Regions from separate parts of the Homo sapiens genome. Here all the other regions are linked to region 1. Evidence: promoter capture Hi-C in human tissues and cell types (Jung and others, 2019). All regions are on one chromosome and are shown on one strand. The core of a region is centred on a gene start or on the middle of the fragment in contact, and the rest is flanking DNA. Distances in the headings are between cores, read along the strand shown. Region 1 holds the start of VPS28 (VPS28 subunit of ESCRT-I). Region 2 holds the start of ZNF7 (zinc finger protein 7). Region 3 overlaps ZNF34 (zinc finger protein 34). Region 4 holds the start of ZNF251 (zinc finger protein 251). Region 5 overlaps ZNF251 (zinc finger protein 251).

Region 1 (2,597 bases), core at 51-2,550:
AAGACCGAGCCACTGCACTCCAGCCTGGGAGACAGAGCAAGACCCTGTCTCAAAACAAACAAACGAACAACAAAAAAAACCGACAAAAAAAGACAGCCCGTAAGTGCCAGGTCCTGGAGACCCAGGGCTCCATGAAGAGCTCTCCTAAGCTCAATAATGGTGAACACACAGGGTGCTATAGGGGCTACCAGAAAAAGTGAGGTACTATGGACACTCAGGAGAGCGGGGCGGGGGCTGCAGTGGAGTGTGGTTCAAGCTGGAGGTTGAGGGAGGTTATGAGGGCGGCAGGCAGCTGTTTGATGGCCCACGAGGAGAGTTTGGGGCACAGGAAACAACACACTTAACAGCCCGCCTTTAAGTAGGCATGAACTTGGAGGAACCAACAAGCTGAAGGTGCAGCTTCTCGAAAGAGGGGGTCCTAGGGAATGAAGATGGAGAGGTGCCCCTAGTTGGGCAGCGAGCTGTGGAGAAACAATGGGAGCGGGGCCCGTGGGAGGGTCCTGCCTAGCACGGAAGCTGGGCCAGCTCCAGACGTTCTCTCTTTGAAAGTGGAGCCGTCAGATCCGCCGAGGGATTTGAGATAGGATTAAAATAAAGGAGTTACGAACGACACCCCTGTTTTTGGCCCAATGGGCCGGGCAGTAAGATAAACTCAGACGGAGAGGGGAGGAGGAGCGGGCCTGGCGGGCAGGCGCAGGAAGCTCTCGGTGGAGAGGCCCGGGAGAGCAGCGCTGAGCCGGCTAACTGGGAGTGGACGGTGCTACCGGGGATGGGAGAAGAGCAGAAGTGAGGGAAGGCCGCCCGCGCCGAAGCCCTGGGGCGCCCCAGCCGAGGAAGAGCCGGGAAAGGGCGTCGCCGCTCATGTAGGTAGGGAACGTCTGGGTCAAGCTCTCCGAGGGTCGAGGCCATTGCGAGCCGCGGGGTGGGGACCGAGGCTGCTCGGCAGCCGTCACGGAGCCGCCAGGCAGGAGAGCGCCGAGGAGCCAACCGCCCCAACCACGCAGGAGCTTCTGCCTAACAGCGAAAGCGGACGTTCTGCGGCCACAAGCAAATGTGCAAAACAACCTCGCAGAGTGGACAACGAGCAAGGAAAGCCAGTTTCTAGAACATGCCAATAACGTGACTTTTGCGGCGCTCAGCCGAAGCTGTGCCGGGGCCTAGGCGCGCCCAGAGGGTGCCAGGCCCTGAGTCGCCTCTCCCCACTCTGCCCCTTCCCCGCCCACCGGCCGGGCCCCGGGTACCTGGACGGCTCGCGGTCGGGAAGATGGCGCCGGGGGCGGGGTGCGCTCGGTCAGCGACTCGGCATTCGCCCCTCATGTCTGCGCCTGCGCGCGTCGGGGCGACCCCCCGCCCCTCCGTCCCCATCGGCAGCTCGGCGCTCAGCCCTCACGCCTGCGCCCGCGCCCGCCCGGACTTCGGGACATTCCCTCCAGCCGCGCAGCCCCCGGGACGTAACCGGCGCAGCAGACTCGAAGCCCGGTCTTACCCCGCCCACCCGCCTGCCAGGCAGCCACGGGGAGGGAGGCAGCAGCTTCATTTATTTTATTTTTTTTTTTTTTTGAGACGGAGTCTCGGTCTGTCGCCCAGGCTGGAGTGCAGTGGTGCGATCTCGGCTCACTGCAAGCTCCGCCTCCCGGGTTCACGCCATTCTCCTGCCTCAGCCTCCGGAGTAGCTGGGACTACAGGCTTCCACCACCACGCCCGGCTAATTTTTGGTATTTTTAGTAGAGACGGGGTTTCACCATGTTAGCCAGGATGGTCTCGATCTCCTGACCTCGTGATCCGCCCGCCTGGGCCTCCCAAAGTGTTGGGATTACAGGCGTGAGCCACCGCGCCCGGCCAGCAGCTTCATTTATTAGGGGCTTCGGTGAGGGTGGGGAAAGGCAGCGCCAGGGTCAGAGGCGCCGAAAGAAGAGCTTGGAGCCGTGGTCCAGCGTGCACTCGCCGGGGCCCGGCCGACTGGGCTGCAGCTGGCGCAGGGCGTCCCTGTCCTCAGCGCAGAGGCGTCTGCTGCACAGCTGCAGTTCCCGGAGCTGCGCGGCTATCTTGTCCCACAGGCCCAGGCCCAGGGGACCCTGGACGGCGCAGCCTGCGGAGGGGAAGAGGGCAGACCTCAGCGCTGCGGGGGCCGGCGGCGTCCTGGTGCCCGCGGCAGGCTCCAGGGAACAAACTCGCTTTCGCTGAGGGCCCCAGGGCTGTAGCGAGGGGCAGTGGGCAGAGCTCCGGAGAGGCCCCATGACTCTCCAGGAAGGGGTGGGATCATCTGCACAGCCAGCGGTCAGACAGGAGGAAGGGTGGCTCCCTTCTTTACCTCTGACAGTGCCCGATCTCAAAGTCCATGCCTACACGTCAGTCTCCCCACCCATAAGAAGGACATAATGGATCTGCTTGCAAATCTGTACATCGTGGGCCTGAGTGGATCAAGAGAACACTAAGCTCAGGAATTCAGGGAGCTGGGTGGGAAGGTACAGATGCCAGGAACTGAGGTGTGGGGAAGGGGTCTCACACCAGCACTCGGGGGCCTTCCTGGAAAAGGCGGCCTGGCCCTGGGAGGTGAAGGGGAGGGGGCACAGGAAGAAAGCAGAGCCCCGCTTCGT
Region 2 (2,597 bases), core at 54-2,553, 400 kb after region 1:
GTTACCCTGGTGTGCCCCCCTCACCTGCAGCAGGCCAGGTTGGGGCATAGGGTTGCCGGCCCCTACCAGCCCTGGGGGTCTGGAGGGCGGCTGGGGAAGCAGACCCCCTGTCCTTCCCTATCCTTCGCGACATGCTCCCTGAGCAGCTGCAGTCCACTTAGATGACCAGAGAGGATGTGGGGCTGAGGGAGCCGAACTCGGGGCAGCAGGGGCGGGGGTGGGAGTGCCGGGATCATCCGCACCGGGAGAGGCGAGGCCGGCGTCTGTTTTTCACCTGGGCCTCCCTGGGGGGCTGGGGGCTGCCTGACTCTTCCCTCCTTTGGTTTGCGCAAGTTTTCCCGCGCGGGTTCGGATCAACACGCCGGGGGAGCCCGGCTTACGTCCCTCCTGGACCCCCGCCCCGTTCTTCCCGTGGGGAGGGGCGCGTCAGGCGGACCTGGCACCCTCCGGCTGCTGGGCTTCGCCGGGAGCCACGCGGGGAGGTCCAGGCAGTCGGGACGCAGGCAGCGTCCTCGCCGAGGCTGCGAGTCCGTGGCCGTCCGGGGGAGGCGCGCAGGCTCTGCCGGACGCAGAAGGAACCCGAAGGAGGCGGGGTGGAGGGCGGTGCGGGGCCGGGGAGGGGCGAGGCGAGTGGCGAGTGGACGCCGGGCCCGGCCTCGGGCAACTCCGAGGGGCGCCCTTCCTCGGGGTCCCGGAGGCTCTGCGACCCCGCGGCCGCTCCAGCCGCTCACTGGGGACAAGGCCCGAGCCAGGCGTCTCCGCGAGGCGGGGTCCATAGCGCGCCCAGCAGGCGCCTCCTGTCGCAGGGACGCGGGGGAGCGGCGCCTGAACAGCCTCGGTGGGAACCAGCGCCCGAAGCTGGTGATCCGGGGTGCGCAGGGCCCAACCGGGCGATCCCCTGGATCTCCGCCAGCCTCGCCCCGACTCCGCTCCTCCCACCCGCCAGCGAGTCCGCAACTCCCGGCCCCGGCCCGCGTCCCCAGCTCCAGGCCCCGGCCCCGCCCCGCCCCTGCTCAGGCACCGCCCACTCCGGGCTCTGGGCCCTCCTCTCCCTCGCGGCTCCGCCCCCTGCCCGCCTCTGACTGTACCCCGCCCCCAGGCGCCAGCCCCGCCTATCTGGGCTTCTGGTCCCGCCCAGGTTCTTGTCCCTCGGGCCCCAGCCTCGCCCCTCCTCGGCTCTGACTCCACCCCTTCTCCGGAGCCTGGGAGGCGGGGCTGAGAACCACAGAGATGGCCGGGCCTCCGAGCGGCCCAGGGCGGCCGGAAGTTTGCGGGGCGGGGCGGACGCGGGTGGCCAAGGCCCGTTTCCGGCGGCGTCGCGCGTTTGCGAGCCTCGGGTGGTCCTCAGGGAGGGTGAGTCGGCGCGGCGGGCGCGGACTCGGGTTGCCCTCGGTCCGAGTGATCCCTGGTCGCTTCCTTAGCCCTCCCGCCTTCGGCATTGGGGTCCCCGCGTCCCCCGGGCCTCCAGGCGGGAAAGCGCGGGGGCTTTGCGGGGCCTTGAGCGCCTGGTGTGGGAGGTGGTCGAGCCCAGCCACCCTCCCCCGCGGCGGCGCGAGGTGGGCTTCGTTTGGCCGAGTCTCGCAGCTCCCCGCAGACCCCGCTCGTGGCGGCCACGGTGTCCGGGGCCTGAGTAAGGCGAGCTCCAGCTGCGGCCTTTTCTTCAGGCCTGGGTCTACTCCCGGGGCCCTGACTCCTCCTGCGAAATCACCTCCTTCTAGAGCCTTTTCTCTTTCTATTTATTGCCCCGGAAGGCCTAGGATAAGTGACAGTGGAGGAAGGAACGGTGCCTTGGGTGGGGTAGGCTGTTTGTCTTCTCTAAATTCTGGTTGCTATTCCGGGCATTCCTACTGTCAGGAGCCAGGTGGGGGGATCAGCCTACCTGTGCCGGTGACCTGGGGCTTCCACCCACAAACCACTTTCTGGGCCAGAAGCTGCCATACGAAGACTCTTTTTCCCATTCCGACCTCCCGGGGGAATGCCTGGGCAGGTAGAGGGTCTGGGGTCATTGGCTTAATTGAGGTGAACGATTTATATCAGATTACATCCCTGTGCCTGGTTCCATCCTGGCGACAGGTGAGCTGGAGACTGGAATTTATGTACTTGAGGGCAGGGGTTTCCATGTCCACTCTTGTCTTCCCTACAGTTTGTCATTTTTGCTCCTGCCTTCTCCAACCTCCAGTCGCTCACTGCCTTCCCCAACCTCCAGTCGCTCACTGCCTTCCCTTGCTGCCGGGAATTTACCCACACTGGTTCATCCAACCCCATTTCTTCTTGCTTCAGGCCCTTTCACATGCTATTCCTGCTGCCTGGAGTGCTCTCTCCACCTCCATTACCTTGGCCGAGGTCCCTGGGGAAGTGACCCATTACACTGAACGTTCTAGTCTAAGTGGCTTTCATAGTTCCCTGTACTTGAGCGCTGTCGTGGTTGCAGTGTGCTTATTTGTGTGGTTATTTAACTCTTTCCTCCGCCAGACTGCTTCGTGAAGGCAGGGTCCTCGTGTCCACTACTGTATCCCCATTACTCAGTGCCTGGCACGTGGCATCCACTTCTTACGGCTTTGTGGAGTGAGTCACACATGCCACACACACATACACTC
Region 3 (2,597 bases), core at 29-2,528, 350 kb after region 1:
AAGTGCTTCCCACACTCCCCACACTTGTAGGGTTTCTCCCCAGTGTGAATCCTCTGGTGCTTCATGAGGTTGGGCCTCCGGGTGAATGTCTTCCCACACTCGTCACACCGGTAGGGAATCTCTCCTGAGTGCATCCTTCGGTGATTGATGAACTCGCAGCTCTGGCTGAAGGCTTTCCCACACTCATCACATTTGTAGGGCTTCTCTTCAGTGTGAAGCCGCTGATGCTTGACAAGGTTGGCACTGTACCTGAATGTTTTCCCACAGTAACTGCAATAATGCAATTTTTTCCCAGTAGGAATTTTCTGATCTTCTTTAACAACTAAGTTTGCACTGAAGATTTCCCCAGAGTTACGAACTGTATTTGTTTTTTTTGACCTGTGTACACGCTTATGGTTGTTGAGATATGATCTCTGTTCAAAACTTTGCTCACATATATCACATTTGTGAGGTCTCTGATCAGGAACAGGTCTTGACAGCAACCTGAGGTTTCCCCCAGACTCCCTGCTGCTCTCCCCGTTGGTCAGTGTGACTGCCCTGGGGCCTCTCTGCTCCACTAGCTTTTCCAGGCTCCCCTCTGACTTACTGATGTGGTCACAGGCTTCTACTGGCTCAGATCCCTGGGGATCTTCCTCACCAAATGTCTCCTGTGAAGTCAACTCCTTGTACTCAGTTCTGGTCCCAAGAGCTGAAACAAAAAACAGAACATCTAAGGGTCACCTGCTCTGACTCTGGAAGGTAGGCATGAGATGCTGCTGGCCACCTGTGGGGAACCAATTTGATCATCTCCAAAGTCCCAACAGCCTTGCAAAGATAAGAGCCTGGAGCTCAGAGGCTTATGCAGCTCACCTGGGGCCACAGTCATACAGCCCTTCAAACATTCACTCCTTCCTTCCTTGATTTGACACTCACACAACAAACCTCTCCTGGGTGGCCACTCCCCAAGAATGGAGAGTGACAAGTACCCAAGTGGGGTCCTGCCACATGGCCGCTCAGAGACTGATACCAGCAGCCACAGTCAGGATTGATTAGTCCTGGCCCCTACTTGCCAGCTGAGTCACCTGAGGCAACAACTCACCTACCTTTCTGAGCCTTGGTTTCTCCATCTGTGACCACATGGCACTCTCATGAGAACAAAACAGATTAATACAACAGACTGACCATGAAGCACTCAGCCCAGTGCCCAGCACAGTGAGTTCCAGGTGCAAGCACCTCATGACTGCCACTTTCATTACTGCTCTCTTCCTAGTCCTAAGGGGTCTATCCTTCCACCCCTTGCCTGGCTCTGCACTGCACATGAACAGGTGCTGAACACCAATATCTGCCAAGATGTGCAGCAGACGGTGCTCACACACTACTACAGGAGCCTATGCTGGAGCTGCTGCTTTGGAGGACGGCTTGGCAACCTTATCTAAAGCTGATCTATGAAAATGCTGACTCAGTGACTCTGCTCCCAGGTACACACGCGCCAGAAATGTATTCCGGGCGCCAGAGAGAGACATGCACAAGAGTGTCCACAGCAGTTCCTGTACAACCCCAAACCTGGACAACTGAATGTCCTCCACAAGTAGAAGGGAACATAAGTTGTGGTGTGTTCATACAATAGAACAATGGCAACCAAACAGACCACACTGCTACTCCATGAAACACAAGCAGCTCTCACAGTGTTCAGCAAAAGATGCCCTGTGTGAGTCTACACAGAAAAATCCAAAGGAGGAAGCAGCCTCTTGTGACAGGAGTCAGAAAGAAGACCCCTGTGGGGAGCAGTGGGAAATGGCAGAGGAGAGCCAGGGAGCTCCTGGGGAGCGGAAACAGTCTGTATTTTAATCTGAAGGATGATTTTTCATAAAAATTCACTGAGTTATAAACTTAGGGTTTGTCCTATTTCTATAGATATTTACATTCAAATAAGCAAATTTACAAAATAAGAAGTCCTTTGAGCCAGCAGTTCCTTCCTCAGACACCATCAGACACATGCAAAAAGGTGACCATCAGAGCTATCCAATCTTTTGGCCTGCACTTGCACTGAAGACATGACTGAGACTCATGCGCACAGAAATGGAAACACATTCCGTGTCTGCACAGCAGAACACACTATCATTTCTGTTAAGAAGCAGTGTCAGCCAGGCACAGTGGCTGTAATCCCAGCACTTTGGGAGGCCAAGGCAGGCGGATCACAAGGTCAGGAGCTTGAGACCAGCCTGGCCAATACGGTGTAACCCCGTCTCTATTAAAAATACAAAAATTAGCCAGGCATGGTGGCGTGCACCTGTAGTCCCAGCTACTGGGGAGGCTGAGGCAAAAGAATTGCTTGAACCTGGGAGGCAGAGGTTGCAGTGAGCCGAGATCACACCACTGCCCTCCAGCCTGGGCAACAGAGCAAGACTCTGTCTCAAAAAAAAAAAAAAAGAATGGCTCACACCTATAATCCCAGTACTTTGGGAGGCCAAGGTGGGAGGATCGCTTGAGCCCAGGGGTTTGAGACCAGCCTGGTCAACACAGTGAAACCCTGTCTCTACTAAAAATACAAAAATTAGCCAGGCATGGCGGCAGGCACCTGTAGTCCCAGCTACTCAGGAGGCTGAGGCAGAATCGCT
Region 4 (2,597 bases), core at 48-2,547, 330 kb after region 1:
GGTAGAGCGCCCGCTGCTGGGGGCCCAGCTGCCGCCCCTCCGCCTGAGAGAAGTACACGGCCACATCCTGGAAGGTCAGCGGCATCTCCTGCAACAAAACATCGCCGCTGCCCAGGCCATGCCCACGGGGCAGCAGCCTGCACTAAAAGGGCCCTGACCTGGTGGGGCCCCACTACCCAGGGCCCTGCTGTGGTCAGTATGAACTGTGTATCAGCAGGTCCCTGATGGGGCAGCTGAGAGCGCTGAGGACCAGCCAACTTCAGCTACACGGGGACCCAGCTGAGCTCAGAGCCCCTCTCCCTGCAGGAGGGCGAGTCTACCTCTCAGAACCCTTTCCTCACGGTTGCTATGAGCCCCTGGCTGGCCTTACCAGTTGCCGGGCTCACGGCTCCAGAGGAGAGTAGCTTCTGACTGGGATGGGGATGAAGATGAAGAGGTGGGCAGGAAGGAGGGTTAACTCACCTGGTGCCCTGGAAGCTGGAATGTGGCTGCCATTCTGTGTGCATGGGCTGCTGTGGTTTCCAAGAGAAGACAGGAGACTGCCCTGGCCTGAAGTCTCCCCGAACTTACCTTCAGTGGGGAGAACTCAGGCTCAGCCCCATTCAACCAGGGGTGTGGAAGGATGGCCAGGAGGCAGAAGCTGATTGCTGCTGTGGCCTCCTGGGTCGCGGGAGGCAGGTCACTATGCAGCACGGGCCGACGTGCCCTACTGCTCAGTGACTCCTGAAATCCCAGAACGGCCAGAGCCAGAGCCCGGGGGGATCCAGGGACGCCCGGCTAAGGGGTGAAAGCTGGCAGTTCCCGTGGTCCAGACCTGCTGAAGGCCCTGGAAATGGGGTGCAGGGCCGTTCTACCTGCCTGGCCAACCTGGGGCAAAGAGCCACGTGAGGGTGCAGCCTCACCAAGGCTGAGGACGTGAGAAGGAGGCCGCGGGGATGCTGCCGAAGGCCCCAGGCTCCGGGGAGAGGCCGGAAGCCAGCTGTGGTCCTCAGTCCAGCCTTCTAGGGCCGCGCCGCGGTCGCCTCCTCCCGGCCTCTGCAGCCCGTCGGTGGCTCCCGCGGCACCCAGAACAGGCTCCTCCTGGACTGGCCGCCGCCTCCCCGCGCCCTCCCCGCGCCCTCCCCGCCTGCCTGCCCGCTTGGCGCTCCTTCCTGGTCCGACACTGCCCCACCTGTTTGCTCGACCCGGGGAAGCCACCGAGGAAGCGCCGAGGAGCTGCGCAGTCGCACCGAGCCCGGAACGGACCCTCCCACAGAACCGGGTCCAGAGCCGGGGAGGGGGCGGGCTAGGATGAAGAGGGCGGGCCGGGCCGAGCTGCGCACACGCAGGCTTCCCCGCCCCCTGCGGGGCCTCAGTACGCCTCCGAGAACGCCGGGAACCGGAAGCCAGCCGCGGTTCCGCCCGGATTCTTCCGGGGCCGCTCTGGGATGACTGGAGGCCTGCGCCGTCTATGGTCGGGGAGGGGGAGAGCCCACGGCAGCTGAGCGGAGGGTCTGGCGCGGTGACGCTGCGCATCCGGGCCGCGCCGCGCTCGCCCCGACCCTAAACCCTCACCTGAACCCTAACCCCGCTGGGCTCCCGGCTCCCCCGTCGGTCACCATACATCGTGTGTCCCGATTCACCATAACCACCAGAAAGTCGCTTATGAAGATGTTACAATTATCGGGGCTCAGAACACAACGCCCCAAAATGAAGGCCTGGGAGGCAGTTTCCCTCTGACCTTCCCAGGCCTCCAGTCTCAGTTCTTTTCTCCCGCGAGGCTCCTCACAGAGTGAATCCCTTTTACCCAAGGCGAGTCCCAGAGGCCAGACCCCCAAAGCCAGCCACAAAACCTAAAAACACGACTCTGATGTTCCCCCCGCTTTTCTGTGTGAAAACTGGCGGTAAAGGCCGGGCGTGGTGGCGGGCGTCTGTAGTCCCAGCTACTCCGGAGGCTGAGGCGGGAGAATCGCTTGAACCCGGGAGGCGGAGGTTGCAGTGAGCCGAGATCGCGCCACTGCACTCCAGCCTGGGTGACAGAGCGAGACTCCATCTCAAAAATAAATAATAAATAAATAAATAATCCATTTATTTGCCTTTTCTCCAAAAATCTGCCTTTTATGAGTTGGCTTTCAGTGAACCTTCAGAGGGCAAAGAGGAACTTTCCCTTTGGCCCCTACACAATAAAGCATGGTTGAAAAAATAGCACTTGATAAAGGTGAGGAGACCAGCTTAGGAGCAGGGGGAGAAGGAAAGGAAAGCCAAGCCATCTTGTCACCCAGAATATAGTGTAGGCCCTGTACACTGTGTTAGAATCAAGGCAGAAATTTTATATCTGAACTTGAGACGATCAACGAGGATGGAGAATGTCTAGAAGTCTAAAGCACCATGCAAAGTCACACATGATTAAGAAGATGCCTTACATTATTAATATCAGTGCTGGGGAGATTGTGGAGAATTACGCACTGCTATGCTTGAGGAAGCGTGTTTAGTACAATGTTGAAAATGAATTAAGCTGTACATAAAGAGCCTTAAACACTTCAATTAATCTAGGAATCTATCCTATGGAAATAACAAAAATGACAAAGAGAAGGGTGCCCATTCCAGAGTTTGTTGTG
Region 5 (2,597 bases), core at 66-2,565, 300 kb after region 1:
GTCTTCTGGACAACGTGCTGCAGCTTCTCCATCAGCAGTGGCTGCTTCACCTTGTGCTTTTGTTATGGAGACTACGTCTTTCCTTAACCCTCATGAACCAACCTCTGCCAGCTTCAAGGTTTTCTTCTGCAGCTTCCTTACCCCTCTCAGCTTTCGCATAATTGAAGAGAGTTGGGGCCTTGCTCTTGAGGCGAAGCTTTGGCTTAAGGGAATGTGTCTGGTTTGATCTTCTATCCAGACAGTTTGAGGGGGACTGAAACTGTCTCCATATCAGCAATAAGGCTGCTGTACCTTCTTGTCATTCATATGTTCACCAGAATAGCACTCCCAATTTCCTTCAAGAACTTTACTTTTTACTGTTATTTTCTTTTTGAGACAGGGTCTCACTCTGTCACCCAGGCTGGAGTGCAGTGGTGTGATCATAGCTCACTGCAGCCTCAAACTCCTGGGCTCAAGCGATCCTCCTGTCTCAGCCTCCTGAGAAGCTGGGACTACAGGCTTGATCCACCACGCCTGAAGAAGTTTTGCTTTGCATTCACAACTTAGCTAACAGACGCAAAAGGCCTGGCTTTGGCCTGTCTCAGTTTTCACCGCACCTTCCTTACTAAACTTGGTCATTTCTAACATTTGCAATAAAGCGAGAGGTGTGTGACTCTTCCTTTCATTTGAACACTTATAGGCCATTCCAGGGTTATTAATTGGCCTAGTTTCGATATTGCTGAGTCTCAGGGAATATGGAGGCCCTAGGAGAGAGAGAGGGAGGTAGGGAATGGCTGATCAGTGGGTCAGGACAGCCAACACTCATCGATTAAGCTCACCGTCTCATACAGGCAGAGTTCATGGTGCCCTTGAAACAATTACAATAGCAACATTAAAGATCGCAGATCACAGAGCACCATAACAGATATAAAAAAAAGGTTTGAGGCCAGGCGCAGTAGCTCATGCCTGCAATCCCAGCACCTTGGGAGGCCGAGACGGGCGGATCACGAGGTCAGGAGATCGAGACCATCCTGGCTAACATGGTGAAACCTCATCTCTACTAAAAATACAAAAAATTAGCCGGGCGTGGTGGTGGGCGCCTGTAGTCCCAGCTACCCGGGAGGCTGAGGCAGGAGAATAGCATGAACCCGGGAGGCGGAGCTTGCAGTGAGCCGAGATCGCGCCACTGCACTCCAGTCTGGGCGACAGAGCAAGGCTCCGTCTCAAAAAAAAAAAAAAAAAGGTTTGAAATACTGCAAGAATTACCAAAATGTGACACAAAGAAGTGAGCACGTGCTGTTGAAAATGGCACTGACAGACTTGCTCAACACAAGGTCGTCACAAACCTTCAATTTGTAAAAAAAAATGTTCGCCAGGCGCAGTGGCTCGCACTTGTAATCCCAACAGTTTGGAGGCCCAGGGGGGCAGATCACCTGAGGTCAGAAGTTTGAGACCATCCTGGCCAACATGGTGAAACCCTGTCTCTACTAAAAATACAAAATTAGCCAGGCATGGTGGCGCGCGCCTGTAATCCCAGCTACTTGGGAGGCTGAGGCAGGAGAATCACTAGAACCTGGGAGGCGGAGGTTGCAGTGAGCTGAGATCGCGCCATTGCACTCCAGCCTGGGCGACGAGCAAGACTCCATCTATGGAAAAAAAAAAAAAAAAAAAGCAGCAGTATCTGCAAAGCCACAACAAAGTGAAGTGGAATAAAATGAAGTGTGCCTGACCTATATTCATGTTAAAATTTAAAAATACGAGTTTACTCCTAAAGCTCCTGGTTATAAAAGTCAAAAGAAAAATTGGGATAAAAACGAAAACAAAATTTTATGTCATTTTCTCCATGCGTAGTGCCCTTTTAGCAAGCATATAAGATTCCTTTTATTTATTTATTTTTATTTTTTTTTTTTTTTTTGTGAGATAGAGTCTTGCTCTGTCGCCCAGGCTGGAGTGCAGTGGCGCAATCTCGGCTCACTGCAAGCTCCGCCTCCCGGGTTCACGCCATTCTCCTGCCTCAGCCTCCCGAGTAGCTGGGACTACAGGCGCCCGCCACCACGCCCGGCTAATTTTTTGTATTTTTAGTAGAGACGGGGTTTCACTGTGTTAACCAGGATGGTCTCGATCTCCTGACCTCGCCATCCACCCGCCTCGGCCTCCCAAAGTGCTGGGATCACAGGCGTGAGCTACCGCACCCGGCCTAAGATTCCTTTTAAATGCCAGGGTCCTCCCTGATGTCTCATATCAACGTAACTGCCCGCTTAAAAATAGATCTCTTGGGATGGGCATGGTGGCTCGCGCCTGTGATCCCCGCACTTTGGGAGGCTGAAATGAGAGGAGAGCTTGAGCCCACGAGGTGGAGGCTGCAGTGAGCTGAGACCGCACCTCCGCACTCCAGCCTGGGCAGCAGAGTGAGACCCTGTCTCTGAAGAACCAAAACCAAAACAGATCTCTCATCAGGCTATCAACAGGTTACATGTGTTTTTTGTGACTACTCAGATAAAGATGTTCAATTGTAACAGTTTCTCAACATTGCAGGCAGGGCTGAGCCCACCCAGGGCTGGCGTTGTTCCCAGGAGCGGGTGCCCTCACCCACCAACTCGAGGCCGCTCACTCACTGT

What was found. The method cuts DNA at HindIII sites, captures the fragments that hold promoters and counts their contacts. A contact is called where the count stands out against the background at its distance.
Region 2: the fragment with the promoter of ZNF7 here is called in contact with the fragment with the promoter of VPS28 in region 1 in 1 of the 25 tissues and cell types used here (spleen).
Region 3: a fragment that was not itself captured here is called in contact with the fragment with the promoter of VPS28 in region 1 in 1 of the 25 tissues and cell types used here (dorsolateral prefrontal cortex).
Region 4: the fragment with the promoter of ZNF251 here is called in contact with the fragment with the promoter of VPS28 in region 1 in 5 of the 25 tissues and cell types used here (IMR-90 fibroblasts, dorsolateral prefrontal cortex, lymphoblastoid cells and 2 more).
Region 5: a contact is called between a fragment that was not itself captured here and the fragment with the promoter of VPS28 in region 1, in 3 of the 25 tissues and cell types used here (dorsolateral prefrontal cortex, lymphoblastoid cells and spleen).

What each region holds. Positions count from the first base shown.
Region 1 is chr8:144,427,248-144,429,844 of GRCh38, forward strand. VPS28 (VPS28 subunit of ESCRT-I) reads right to left here and starts at 1,301. Exons shown (of 10, transcript NM_016208.4): 1 at 1,242-1,301. It overlaps TONSL (tonsoku like, DNA repair protein), which reads right to left. Exons shown (of 26, transcript NM_013432.5): 26 at 1,528-2,089. The coding sequence ends at 1,896. RefSeq lists a silencer at 1,127-1,476. The HindIII fragment of the contact is 10,135 bases long and covers 153-2,597 here.
Region 2 is chr8:144,826,257-144,828,853 of GRCh38, forward strand. ZNF7 (zinc finger protein 7) reads left to right here and starts at 1,304. Exons shown (of 5, transcript NM_003416.4): 1 at 1,304-1,353. It overlaps LOC100130027 (a long non-coding RNA gene), which reads right to left and starts at 784. Exons shown (of 5, transcript NR_147501.1): 1 at 1-784. RefSeq lists a silencer at 495-1,624 and enhancers at 956-1,481, 1,482-2,007, 2,008-2,533. The HindIII fragment of the contact is 13,991 bases long and covers 1-2,597 here.
Region 3 is chr8:144,773,918-144,776,514 of GRCh38, forward strand. ZNF34 (zinc finger protein 34) reads right to left here. Exons shown (of 6, transcript NM_001286769.2): 6 at 1-688. Among named protein-coding and RNA genes, the nearest start is that of ZNF34, 12 kb to the right of the region's middle. The HindIII fragment of the contact is 3,662 bases long and covers 1-2,597 here.
Region 4 is chr8:144,754,234-144,756,830 of GRCh38, forward strand. It overlaps ZNF251 (zinc finger protein 251), which reads right to left and starts at 1,298. Exons shown (of 5, transcript NM_138367.2): 1 at 1,172-1,298; 2 at 463-570; 3 at 1-88. The coding sequence starts at 495. The region is part of intron 2 of LOC107986986 (a long non-coding RNA gene); the gene reads left to right. The HindIII fragment of the contact is 22,211 bases long and covers 1-2,597 here.
Region 5 is chr8:144,727,459-144,730,055 of GRCh38, forward strand. The region is part of intron 4 of ZNF251 (zinc finger protein 251); the gene reads right to left. Among named protein-coding and RNA genes, the nearest start is that of ZNF251, 27 kb to the right of the region's middle. The HindIII fragment of the contact is 6,507 bases long and covers 1-2,597 here.